Linked DNA regions of Homo sapiens: region 1 is linked to region 2. The links are contacts of gene promoters, found by promoter capture Hi-C in blood cells and fetal thymus (Javierre and others, 2016). All regions are on one chromosome and are shown on one strand. The core of a region is centred on a gene start or on the middle of the fragment in contact, and the rest is flanking DNA. Distances in the headings are between cores, read along the strand shown.

What was found. Contacts are between HindIII fragments. The CHiCAGO score rates a contact against its expected background, and 5 or more counts as called.
Region 1: a contact is called between a fragment that was not itself captured here and the fragment with the promoter of NEDD1 in region 2, in 2 of 17 cell types (endothelial precursors and total CD8 T cells). The highest score is 7.9, in endothelial precursors.

What each region holds. Positions count from the first base shown.
Region 1 is chr12:96,580,570-96,583,269 of GRCh38, reverse strand. CFAP54 (cilia and flagella associated protein 54) reads right to left here. Exons shown (of 68, transcript NM_001306084.2): 21 at 2,581-2,673; 22 at 2,165-2,350. Among named protein-coding and RNA genes, the nearest start is that of CFAP54, 92 kb to the right of the region's middle. The HindIII fragment of the contact is 1,849 bases long and covers 408-2,256 here.
Region 2 is chr12:96,905,911-96,908,610 of GRCh38, reverse strand. NEDD1 (NEDD1 gamma-tubulin ring complex targeting factor) reads right to left here and starts at 1,354. Exons shown (of 16, transcript NM_152905.4): 1 at 1,311-1,354; 2 at 755-1,007. RefSeq lists enhancers at 532-671, 712-801 and a silencer at 1,042-1,321. The HindIII fragment of the contact is 8,934 bases long and covers 1-2,700 here.

The DNA of each region.
Region 1 (2,700 bases), core at 83-2,582, 330 kb after region 2:
AATAGTCTAAAAAGAAGAGAAAATAGCCACAGAAAATAGATAATTCAAAAAGTTTCCTCAAAAAAAAATTTCCAGATACACTAAACTAATAGCCTTCTACATTTAGGGAAAGCCTAGTAGAGATTCACTTGATTTTATTAATATTTACAGAATAATGCTGAGTAAAAAGTACAACCTAAAGTCCCAAAAGCCAAGTTAATCACAGGCATTTAGTGAAACGTCTCCATGCTTTACTATCAAATATTTATAATAATATGTTTTAAAGAAAAGAACTGTCCTGAAACTAGAAACTAACCACTCTCATGAAAATTAGATTGCACTTACAAAATAGAGGTACATTAACTTGCTGAAACTTAAAAGCTTAAACTTAAGTTATAAATTAAGGAGGTTTAATAAGTGAGAAAGCTTTGCTTTAGCCTCTTAACATTATGAGACAGAATGCACATAAACCATCATAAATAAACTACAGAACTGCAAATATAGTGTCAGTAAAGAAACACAGGTCATTACTTCATGACACTACTCATTATCCCAGCAGTATAGCTCTGACTTAGTTTTATTAACTTTCAATGAAAGTTCTACCAAATTAAGCCCAAGAGTCAAACCACTCCCTGGAGAAAAATTAGGCCTTGATGAAATATTCAGTTCCTCACAATAACTCCATCACTGCAAATTAGGGAATATATTAGATTCCAAAGATACCAAAACATCAGAAAACCATGAGCCAGTATGACACGCTAAACCAATACTAGACAAATCCTAGTAATTCTCTCAATTTAATTTTCTTTGAAAAATATGCTATATAAAATGCCACTAAGATCTTATCTTATATTACTAATCAACTATTAAGAGAAAATAGAATAGAAATATGACAAAATTTAGAAAAGCCATCAGCTCTACAGTCAAGAATAGGCTTAAAATTAGATACTTGAGACCTATGTCAATGAGTCACTCTTCCTAGCATCCTCTTCACTGATGACATGTTTTAAGTCAGGCAACAACTATTTCGACAAAAAACATTAATTCATGAGTATATCCCTAACTAAAAACAATACTATTTATTCAATGCCTACTGTGTGATAATATTTGACAGGCATAATTCCATTTAATACTCATAATACCTCTGGGAAGTAGCTACTACTGCTACTCTTGCTTCACAGATGAAAATTACTTGTCCACTATCACATGGCTGTGATAGTGTGAGAAGCTGGAATTTGAACTCAGGTCTCTCTGCCTCTACTGATCCAGAAGTTTTACTTTTATAAATTTACCCTAAGAAAGTAATCATGGATGTAGGTAAAGATTTATATACAAAGTTGGGCATCATAGCTTTGTTTATAATAGCAAAAGACTGGAAAGTATCTAGATGTTTAGCAATGGAGAATTACTAACAAACTATTATATATCCATAAGATTCAATGCCATGGAACCATTAAAAATTATGTTTTGGAAGAATACTTAATGGAATACAGCAATGTCAATTATATGTTAAGTGAAAATATCAGGATGTAAAATAATATGTATACTATGATTTAAATTATATATTGTACATAAATTCATATACACGTGTGTGTGCATGTATATATATATATATATTAATTAGATAGATAAATAGGCAGATAGATACACAAAAATAAAAGGATATCTCTGGATTAGGGTTTCTCAATCTTGACACCACTGACATTTTATGCTGGATAATTCTTTGCTATGCGGGCTATCCGGTACATTGTAGGATGTTTATCAGCCTCCCTGGCCTCTACTCACTAGATGCCAGTAGCACCCCTCTAGTTTGTGACAACTGAAAATTTCTCTAGACATTGACAAAATTGCCCCAGGGTAAGAACTCTGCTACTCTGGATGATAGGATAACAGATAACATTTATTTTCTTCTTTATGCATTTCAGTGTTTTCCAGCATTTCTAAAATTAATATATATGTGTTACATTTGTAATCCAGGGGAAAAAATGTTATTGTCAAAAAGCAAATTTACTAATAAGAGAAGGAATGATTCATATTTTATGAGACAAAACTGTAGTAATGGATAATATGTGTTATAGGAGCTTTAGAATATCTGCTGTGATTTTTATTTCCATCAGAAATTACTTCATAACTGCTTAATGGAAAAAAAAACACAGTGGAAAAAATTAGCAGAAATCTTTTCTACCTGTGTCAGGAACATCCGAGCAGTAATAGTAGAAAGAGGGGGATAAACCAGAATTGGTTTAGTTGTCTCCCCAATAGCACCACCGACAAGCTTTCCGTTGTTAGAATAGGCAGCAACTGCAAATACATACTTTTCATTGGTTTCTAAACCTTTCACTTCAAAAACACTTTTACCGTCAGCTGGTATCTATTAAGAAAAATATATTTCAAGTTATACATGAAAAATTAAAATAACATGACTTTTAAAATACAATTAAGTAAACCTTCTATTAAAAAAAAACCTTTTTCTTTCATTGTTGGATTTTAGTTATGATTCAGGTGGAAATTAGAGAGATTCACCAAAACAATGACTTCATTTAAAAATTTAATTATCATTAAAGGCTTCAGTAAGATTTCCTGATGTTTAATTTGACGTACCGCTTCTCCTGAATTTGGGAGATGATTATTGTTTAGCCGTACTTTTCCATAACTTCCTTCTGCTTTGCAACCCAAAATGCAGTACCAGGAGACCTGCCGACGAGAAAAATGAGCCTGTTT
Region 2 (2,700 bases), core at 105-2,604:
AAACACGTAATTCTAACAAGGTGATTTCACAAACCAAGGAAGTCTAGAAAACAGAAGGCAAAGAAGCTGCTCTAGACAGGCACTTTAAAGAGCAACAGGTAGTAATGAACGATAAGTGAGAAAAAAAGATGCTCAAAAGTACATGGGAGAAAAGGAAAGGGAGAGGGCACAGAATTATACCTCCCACACCTTCCTAGTATGGAAAGTGCAAGACTACTGCACAGCATTAGTGATGTCACAGGCAGGTCCCCGAGTCACCAATACAACAGCACACCTACGTCTAGTATAAGCCATTTCAGAGGACAAGTTAAAGACAGAATTATAGAAACGTTTCATTCTCGAGACAAAAAGTTAATGTAATTCACTCATGTGCTTCCTTATGCTCCATTCATCCGATACAGTGCTACTAAAAGCCATTAAAGTCACCTGCAGAGATGTAACACAATGTTTGGATTTGGAGCCTTAAACATGTGTAACACGTGCCCCCTTGGTTCCCAAGTCAAGGAACAACTAATGAATTGCTGGAAAAGCGAGCTCTAAGCCCTGTAAACCACAACTGCAAGCTGTGTCTAACTGCATCGTAACCAGGCCTGGTGAGCTGCGGGGTGTAGTGGGTAGATCACTGAGGCCTGGGCTCAGAAAAACTGGGTTCAAACGACCTGCTCCAACTTAGGAAACACAACTCGCCGGGTGATTTAATGTTTGTTTTCGGCTCTTAAAGCGGGGCGGGGAAGAGGACCATCTGCCCACCTACCTCGGTCTTCTAAGAACTGAGCATTAAGGGAGAGACTTTACATGAGTCCCTCAAAGACGGTCCCGTCGAAAGCTAGCAGTCAGGACACAAGGCGGTAACGTCGGCCTGGGTTTAGGGACAGCGGCTACAGGAACCAATTCAACTACACCACTCAGCTGAAATGAAAGTTCTCCAACTTTCAATCACCAAAAATACACTTTACTTGCAGGACAACAGCTCAAGTGAGGCTAACCTGTAAAATGCATCCAAGTACCTGCCAAAAGAAAAGTACTTGAGGTTGACAAAAAAGGAGACAGACTTGTGGAGACGAGGCAAACTTTTCGGAGGCAGCACACCCCACAAGGCTCCGGGAGGTGCGCGACCCCGGCCCGCGCCTCCCCGGACACTTCCCAGCCCAGCGCGCCGCCGCGCCCCCGCCCAGCAACCGCTCCGGGCGCGCAAAGCCCAAGGACCGCCGCCCCGCCCTCTGAGGGGGACGGAGCGGGTCTTAGGATCGGGAGGGTGCGCGGACGCGGCGGGCGGGGGCCCGCTGACCTCAGGGCCTCCGGAACCTCACCTCTCCGCAGCAACACAACAGGGGGCCGCGGCCGGCTCCGCGCTGGGCTTCCGGCTCCCGCCTGGACTGTTAAACTTCGGCGGCCGGAAGTCCCGCCCCGAGTGACGTCACGGGGCGAGGCGCTGCGTGCGGCTGTGGCTTCTGGCCGGACAGAAGTCGGGGTACAGAGGGTCTGGTCAGGGCGGCGCTGGGCAGCCGCGGGGGAAGTTATCCCAGTGTCAGGGCGGGAACTGCGGGCCGGGGCGGCCCTCTCCACGCCCCAGCGACGGAGCTCCGGCCACTGCCAACTGCTTGTCATTCACTTGCTGTTTACTGTGTGCCAGGCACTGTGCTAGACTCTTGAGTGTACAGTGATGGTTTAGCCTGGGGATACAGGGGTACAGTGAATTCTCGTGGTCCTTGGCCTTGTGGAGCTTACAATGCACTATAGGAAGCTGACGTTATTAGATGCTTAAATGGAAAGTGAAACTATGATAATGAAAGGTATAAGATGCACGAAGACCCATAATAAGGGAAACTATTGTGGATGTGGATTTAGGAAAGGATTCCTACATGCGATTTACAAGCCAGGAAACGCGCTCAGGCTGAGAAATAACCCAAAGAGTAGGCGTCTGCACTAACCTACTTCAAAACCCATGATCTTTCTTTCGCATCATGCTGCGAGGTCCGGAACATCAAACATCATCTGTTTGGGAATTCTTTTGAAGGGGATACTTCAAGGTGGAAAAGGAAGTTGCTGAGCCGAGTTTTCAAGTGCCCCTTCCAAAGGTCCTTTTATAGCTCTACTGACAATTTTTGCTAAGAATATTTATCATAAATATAGAGCATTTCTTCTGCAAAAAGTGTTATTCTTTCATCACAACTACATGGGGTGTGTTTCTGAACTAGGTACATCAGCCCCAGTTATCTGCATTCATATTGCAGATAATTGGAAAATTCTAATAAGTGCATTTTTTCAGAGCAGAAATTGAAATCGTAGCCAAGTTACTGAGGTTCATGGGGGAGTGGCAAAAGGAGAAAGATAGCAAGCAGCAACTACCTTAATTGTACAGTCTGCAGTTCTTGAGGCTATGAAATCCAATTTGGGCAGGGAGGAGGCCCAGAAAGTTGGGAACTAAGAAAGTACGGTAAGGGAGTGGGGGCAGGGAGAATGGGAGCAAATGGAGAAAAGAAAACTTCAAACAAAAAGGGCAATTAATTAAATCTCTGAAAATTGAAGCCAGCAGGAAAATTGAGACTAGACTATATGAAAATATATATAATAATACATGTAATATAATATATACATATTATATGATATAATACTAGTTATACATATAAAAATAGATATTTATTGAACACTTTACTAAGCACTGTATTTGTGTATATAGACGTAATGTGTATGTATGCA